Linked DNA regions of Homo sapiens: region 1 is linked to region 2. Evidence: promoter capture Hi-C in human tissues and cell types (Jung and others, 2019). All regions are on one chromosome and are shown on one strand. Each heading gives the region's core, a stretch centred on a gene start or on the middle of the fragment in contact. The rest is flanking DNA. Distances are from core to core; before and after follow the strand shown.

The links. The method cuts DNA at HindIII sites, captures the fragments that hold promoters and counts their contacts. A contact is called where the count stands out against the background at its distance.
Region 1: a contact is called between the fragment with the promoter of OVOL3 here and a fragment that was not itself captured in region 2, in 3 of the 25 tissues and cell types used here (dorsolateral prefrontal cortex, pancreas and spleen).

The regions. Positions count from the first base shown.
Region 1 is chr19:36,109,670-36,113,242 of GRCh38, forward strand. It overlaps OVOL3 (ovo like zinc finger 3), which reads left to right and starts at 1,474. Exons shown (of 4, transcript NM_001302757.2): 1 at 1,474-1,627; 2 at 1,700-1,764; 3 at 3,091-3,295. The coding sequence starts at 1,534. It also overlaps a transcript of WDR62 not described here. RefSeq lists enhancers at 1,073-1,703, 1,704-2,333. The HindIII fragment of the contact is 22,945 bases long and covers 1-3,573 here.
Region 2 is chr19:35,971,485-35,975,213 of GRCh38, forward strand. No RefSeq gene overlaps it. Among named protein-coding and RNA genes, the nearest start is that of SDHAF1, 22 kb to the right of the region's middle. RefSeq lists a silencer at 2,070-2,270. The HindIII fragment of the contact is 9,546 bases long and covers 1-3,729 here.

The DNA of each region.
Region 1 (3,573 bases), core at 224-2,723, 140 kb after region 2:
GCTGCAGTGTGTGGAGATCGTACCACTGCACTCCAGCCTGGGCAACAGAGTGAGAATCTGTCTCAAAAAACAAAACAAAACAAAACAAAAAAAATAAAAACAGGTTGGGCGCGGTGGCTCACGCCTGTAATCCCAGCACTTTGGGAGGCTGAGCCGGGCGGATCACCTGCATTTAGGAGTTTGAGACCAGCCTGGCCAACATGGTGAAACCCCATCTCTACAAAAAACACAAAAAATCAGCTGGGTGCAGTGGTGTGCCCCTGTAATCCCAGCTACTTGGAAGGCTGAGGCAGGAGACTCACTTGAACCCAGGAGGCGGAGGTCATAGAGGAGCCAAGATCACGCCATTGCACTCCAGCCTGGGCAACGAGCAAAACTCCGCCTCAAAAAAAAAAAATTAAAAAACAGAGCTTGGATTGCTTCTTAGTCTTCTGGCTAAGAATCAAGTGTAAAACAGCTTGGCCAGTGTGCCGGGGTAGGGTCCTGGGAGCCCCTGGCTGTGTCAAGAGACCCCCTTTGGGCCAGGTGCGGTGGCTCATGCCTGTAATCCCAGCACTTTGGGAGGCCAAGGCAGGCGGATCACTTGACGTCAGGAGTTCAAGACTAGCCTGGCCAACATGGTGAAACTCTGTCTCTACCAAAAATACAAAAATTAGCCCGGTGTGGTGGTGCATGCCTGTAGTCCCAGCTACTCAGGAGGCTGAGGCAGGAGAATCGTTTGAACCCGGGAGGTGGAGGTTCCAGTGAGCCAAGATGGTGCCACTGCACTCCAGCCTGGGCAACAAGAGTGAAACTCCGTCTCAAAAAAAGAAAAAAAAATAGGAGACCCCCTTTTACTTTCCAGACTGTGGGAGGGAGGAAGAGTGTTGTCCCAGGCAGTAACTAGGGGCTAGATTATTAACAAACTAGTATTTTAGTGCCTGCTACACCTGAACAGTGCTTCTGGCTGAATGTTAGCCCTGGGAATCTGAAGATCAGAGAGGTGGGGCATCCTACCTGAGGATGCACAGCCTGGATCCTCATTTTGCCCTGATTTATCCAGATCTGCTGTCCTCCCTGCACCCTACAGAGCAGGGCAATCACAGCAGGGGGCCCCTTCAGTGTCCTCAGACAGCTGCTGTGATTTGAATAACCAGGCAGGCTGCTGGATGTCCCCTGGTGACTGATTTGCCTGGCAAACAGACCCTCAACCCCTGGGAGACAGTCCCCCTGGGGCCTTGTTTCTTCTTCCTATCCTCAAAAGCTCCCCAGGCCCATCTCCCCTTGCCTGGCTCTGCTTGGTGGTCCTAGTGCTTGTCCACCCCTGGAGGCTGGATGGTTCCCTCCAAAACCTGGGAGAAGATGGGCAGGTCCCCAGGCAGGGGTAACCTGAGCCAGCTTAGTCCACTCCCAGGGCCAGCCAGGAAATTTGCATGAAGAGAATGAGGTTCCTCAGAGGCTTCCCCTCCTTTCCCACCAGGGATAGTCATCCTGGGGCTGAGGTCTGACAGCAGGTGGAAGCAGCCCCTGTGTGTGGAGAGCCTTCCGGAGGGCATGCCCCGCGCCTTCCTGGTCAGGAGTCGGCGTCCACAGCCCCCCAACTGGGGCCATCTGCCTGACCAGCTCCGGGGAGATGCCTATATCCCAGGTGGGCCCCTCACTGTGCCTGGAGGTAAGGGGCAGGAGAGACGCAGTGTCACCATCTGGCTTTTCTCCTCAGACTGCAGCAGCCTGGGGGGGCCACCGGCACAACAGTCGTCCAGTGTCAGGGATCCGTGGACAGCGGTGAGTGTGTAACTGGCTAGCAAAGCCAGCTGTTTCGCTCCTGCCTGCTCTCAGCCTTAATGAAGCTGACAGCCCCTTGCTCCCCCGACCCATCTGCACACGCCCTCCAGCCTCGGGACCTGTCCGCCCCTACTTCTCTGTGTTGGGAATGCCTCTCCTTTCCTAGTAGTGAGCTCTCTACTGTTAGGTCTCACCCCAGGCACCAGGGCCGGCAGCCACAGGGATCTCTTCCAGCGGGGCACAAGATTCATCCCCACATGTGGATGATCCGCTTTATGTCAGAACATGGGACAAGGCAACAGGAGTGCGATGGGAGATAAGGGCTTTTTCAGCTGTGCATGCATTGGAGGAAGGAAAGCGCCAGCCGGAATGTAATATATTCATGAAAGCAAGGCACTGTTCTAGGCATGGGCTGTTATATTCAGCGGGAATAAGACAAAAATCCACAATTTTATGGAGCTTATATTCTGGTTGGGGCTGCATGTATAGACAATAAAATTAGTCAGCCTGTAATTCCAGCACTTTGGGAGGCCGAGGCGGGTGAATCACTTGAGGTCATGAGTTCGAGACCAGGCTGGCCAACATGTTGAAACCTTGTCTCTACTAAAATTACAAACATTAGCCAGACATGGTGGCACGTGCCTGTAATCCCAGCTCCTCAGGAGGCTGAGGCAGGAGAATCAGTTGAACCTAGGAGGCAGGGCAGAGGATGCAGTGAGCCGAGTCTGCGCCACTGCACTCCAGCCTGGGAAACAGATCTAGACTCCATCCCCCCTCAAAAAAAACAATAAAATTAGAAAAATAGACCGGGCATAGTGGCTCATGCCTGTAATCCCAGCACTTTGTGAGGCCAAGGTGGGTGGATTGCTTGAGGTCAGGAATTCAAGACCAGCCTGGCCAACATGGTGAAACCCCATCTCTACAAAAAATAAAAAAATTAACTGGGCATGTGGCGCATGCCTACAATCGTGTAATCGTGGGGAGGCTGAGGCACTAGAATCGCTTGAACCCGGGAGGCGGAGGTTGCAGTGACCTGACATCATACCACTTCACTCCTGCCTGGGCGACAGAGCAAGACTCTGTCTTTAAAAAAAAAAAATGTGTATGTCACATCAGAAGATGGGACTTGGCATAGAGAAAGTAAGGACCATGGGATAGTGAGGGAAGGCCCTGGAGAGTGACAGGCACACACACTAATCACTGTCTCCCACCTGCCTTCCTAATCCTCCGTGGTGGCTCAGGACACTCTGTAAATACTCATTTGCAGAGTAACAAAGGGTGGATGGGGTCCAGCCAGAGAGGCTAATAACTCCTGCATCCCTCCAGCAGCCCACACAGGGCAACCTGACCTCTGCTCCCAGGGGCCCTGGGACGCTGGGCTGCCCGCTCTGCCCTAAGGCCTTCCCTCTGCAGCGCATGCTGACAAGGCACCTCAAGTGCCACAGCCCCGTGCGCCGCCACCTGTGCCGCTGTTGTGGCAAGGGCTTTCATGACGCCTTCGATCTCAAGCGCCACATGAGGACTCACACTGGTGAGCAGTGGCAGGGACAGGGAAAAGTTGCTGGGCCCCAGGTGGGGATGGAAGGAAATGGAGAGAGGTGCTGGGCTGTGGAGTGTCCATGGTTTGTGTATGTGGGGTATGGAGAATCAAGACATGATGTCTCTCGGACCCCAGTGGGTGGGTGTAAGGTGGCACCAAAATAGGGGCCTGTCACGGAATGCAGAGTGCAGACGGATGCCGGTTATACGATTCAGGCTCCAGATCGAAAGGCAAGGGAAGGCCTCCCTCTCCATCCCCCAGGGGAGGGA
Region 2 (3,729 bases), core at 698-3,197:
AAGATCTGATTCATAGGGCTGTAGTGAGGATTAAATGAGCTAATATATGGAAAGCACAGAAAATATGCAAAGCTAGGACCCGAGACGTGAAGCCATGATGCTGCATACCTGCCTCCACACCGCCTGGGAGTTTGCCCTGCCACTCAGGGGTCAGGATGCCCCCCAGTGCTCTTAAGGCTCCCCAGCATCCAGTAGCCCCCACCCCAGGTATCCAGAACCTTCAGATACTCAGGGCTCCAGACTTATACTCTCACCAACATGATCCCTCTTTTCCCAAGGACTTGACACTCCTGTGTTCCTTCCTCAATTAATTGGAATTTTAGAATTTTTTTTTTTTTTTTGAGACTGAGTCTCACTCTGTTGCCCAGGCTGGAGTGCAGTGGTGAGATCTTGGCTCACTGCAACCTCTGCCTCCCAGGTTCAAGCAATTGTCCTGCCTCAGCCTCCCAAGTAGCCTGGGACTACAGGCACATGCCACCACACTCGGATAATTTTTGTGTTTTTAGTAGACACGGGGTTTCACTATGTTGGCCAGGCTGGTCTGGAACTCTTGACCTCAGGTGATCCACCTGCCTCAGCCTCCCAAAGTGCTGGGATTACAGGCGTGAGCCACTGCGCCCTGCCAAGATTTGGGCAGGGACAAATAGCCAAACTATATCAGACACTAACAACATCCCTGTGGCTGCCAGTTGAGAACAGATTACAGGGCTTGTGAAGGAATGAGGCCTGGAGGAACAACAGTGAGGAGGCTGCTGCAGTAGTCCCGGCAGGAGACAATGGGGCTTGGACCAGGGTGGGGCAGTGAACGCAGGAGAAATGTGGGCTGGAAACCACCAAGTGAGGCAAAATAAGGAAATCATGGACTGGGAGAAAGGAGGTACCCCTTGATCTGGAAGGACAGGTGGAGGCTCTTGGTAATGGGGGAAGCCCTTGGGTCCTGTCTGAAGGCTCTCCTGTTTACTGGATGAGGTGGGCACACCTGGCTCCTTGGTAGGATTACTCATCTAGATTCCTGAGAAGAGGACTTGCAAGTATTGTGTTAGGACAAATCTGGATATTGAAATCAAGACTCCCAGTTTAAAAAAAAAAAAAAAGAAGGCCGGGCACAGTGGCTCACGCCTGTAATCCCAACACTTTGGGAGGCCAAGGCGGGCGGATCACGAGGTCAGGAGTTCAAAACCAGCCTGACCAACATGGTGAAACCCTGTCTCTACTAAAACTACAAAAATTAGCTTGGCATGGTAGTGCACGCCTGTAATCCCAGCTACTCAGGAGGCTGAGAGAGCAGAATTGCTTGAACCTGGGAGGTGGAGGTTGCAGTGAGCCAAGATCTCGCCACTGCATTCCAGCCTGGGAGACAGAGCGAGACTCTGTCTCAAAAAAAAAAAAAAAAAAAAAAAAGATTCCCGGATAGAGGCTGGGCATGGTGGCTCACATCTACAATCCCAGCACTTTAGGAGGCCAAGGTGGGCAGACTGCTTGAGCTCAGGAGTTCCAGACCAGCCTGGGCAACATGACGAAACCTCGTCTCTACTTAAACACACACACACACACACACACACACACACACACACACACACACACACACACACAGAAAGATTCTTGGTTAGCTGGGCACGGTGGCTCACACCTGTAATCACAGCACTTTGGGAGGCCAAGGTGGGCGGATCACAAGGTCAGGAGATCGAGACCATCCTGGCTAGCACAGTGAAACCCTGTCTCTACTAAAAATACAAAAAATTACGGGGCGTGGTGGCAGGCGCCTGTAGTCCCAGCTACTGGGGAGGCTGAGACAGGAGAATGGCGTGAACCCAGGAGACGGAGCTTGCAGTGAGCCGAGACTGTGCCACTGCACTCCAACCTGGGCGGCAGGGTGAGACTCTGTCTCGAAAAAAAAAAAAAGAAGAAGAAGAAGAAAAAGAAAGATTCTTGGTTAGTAGACGAGGGTGGGGCATCCTAGATCTGCAAAGGCCCCACTCTCAATATCCCAGAATCCAACCCCCTCAACCTCCTTATCCTCCACCCCTCCCCGATGCTCAGGAATTCAGCCCCTCTGAAGACCCCAGCTCTTGGTCACTCCTGCAGGGGAACCCACAGCAGCTGGGGCTGTCAGTTATCCTGGGCGACAGATGGCTATGGTTGTACTTCCACACCTCAGAACCATGGGCAGAGGCAGGTCTGGAGCAAGAACCGCCCACACTGCATCTCTTTTACAACCGGCAGCACACACGTCACTGCACGTGGCTGAAGGTTGCCACTCACACAAGGCAGACTGTGCAGTGACTTCATTCAGGCAGGACCATGACATGGGCAGTCCAGATCCACTGGTCTTCGTGCATTTGGGCCCCGCAGCCACCTGATACCCTGAGCCAAGCCTTAGTCCCCACAGGAGACTGGGGGCCCTGTGCTGTCCCTGTAGCCCCAAAGGGGCCCCTTAGCCACTGCCACCAAGTGTGACACCTACACCCTTCGAGGCCAGTGCCGTGCCTGGATATGCCCCTTCCCCAGCTCCCTGCCTACGCTTTGGGAGTGCTTCCATGTCTGTGTACACCCTGTCAGGCCTCAGTGTCAACACTGAGCCCTCGAGCTTCTGGGCTGGCTGCCGTGAGTGACCCTTCAAGGGAAAGGGTTATAGGCTGCTGGGTAAAGGGGATTCTGGGACTTAGGAATGACACTCCTTAGTTCTGGAGGCTGATTCCTGGGGCAAGGGTGTAGGGTCCCTGGAAGGGGACAGCCTCTGGGTCCTGGGGGCAAGACTGCTGAGTTGGGGGGTGCGGGGAAAATAATTCTAGGGCCCAGAGACAGGGCTCTTTGGGTCTGGGGCCAGGGCTTCTGGGTCCTGGGCATGGGAACAACTTGGCTATAGGGCTGGGACTGCTGGGTTCTCAAGTTCTAGAGACTAGAACACCTAGGTGGTGACAACTCCAGTATCTGGGGTGAGCGCTCTGAGTCCCAGAGCCAGACTTATTTATTTATTTAGACAGGATGTCACTCTGTTGTTTATTTAGACAGGGTATCACTCTGTTGCCAAGGCTGGAGTGCAGTGGTACTATCATAGCTCACTGCAGCCTCAACCTCCCAGGCTCAAGCCATCCTCCCTCCTCAGCTTCCCAAGTATCTGGGACCACGGGCATGTGCCACTATGCCCAGATAATTTTTTAATTTTTTTTGTAAAGATGAGGTCTTCCTATGTTGCCCAGGCTGGTCTCTAATTCCTGAGCTCAAGTGATCCTCCCACCTTGGCCTCCCAAAATGCTGGGATTACAGATGTGAGCCACTACGCCTGTCCCAGAGCCAGACTTCTATGTTCTGGGGAGTGGACTTCTGGTTTCTTAGCACAGAGACTTCTTTACTCTGTGAGGCAGGGATTGCTGGGTCTGTTGCCTGGAGAGCTCCATTCTAGAGGGTGAGGACCACAGGATGTTGGTAGGGATTCCTGGAAGCTGAGAGCAGGGACATTTGCACTATAGGGGTGGCCAAATGCTTGGGTCTTGGAAACCAGACCTGGGAGTCCTGGTGTGAATACCTTTCCCTTCCTGTCTTTCTCCATCCCCACTCCTGCCCCTGCAGCTATTGAGTGCCCCGAAAACAATCACTATGAGCCATGTGGCTTATCCTGTCCAGAGACCCCCCACAGGCAGGCCCACTGGGGGTTACCACTGCCCTGCGGGCATACTTGTGCCTGCGACACAGGCTGCTTCTTCCTTTTTTAAGAGACAGGGTCCTGCC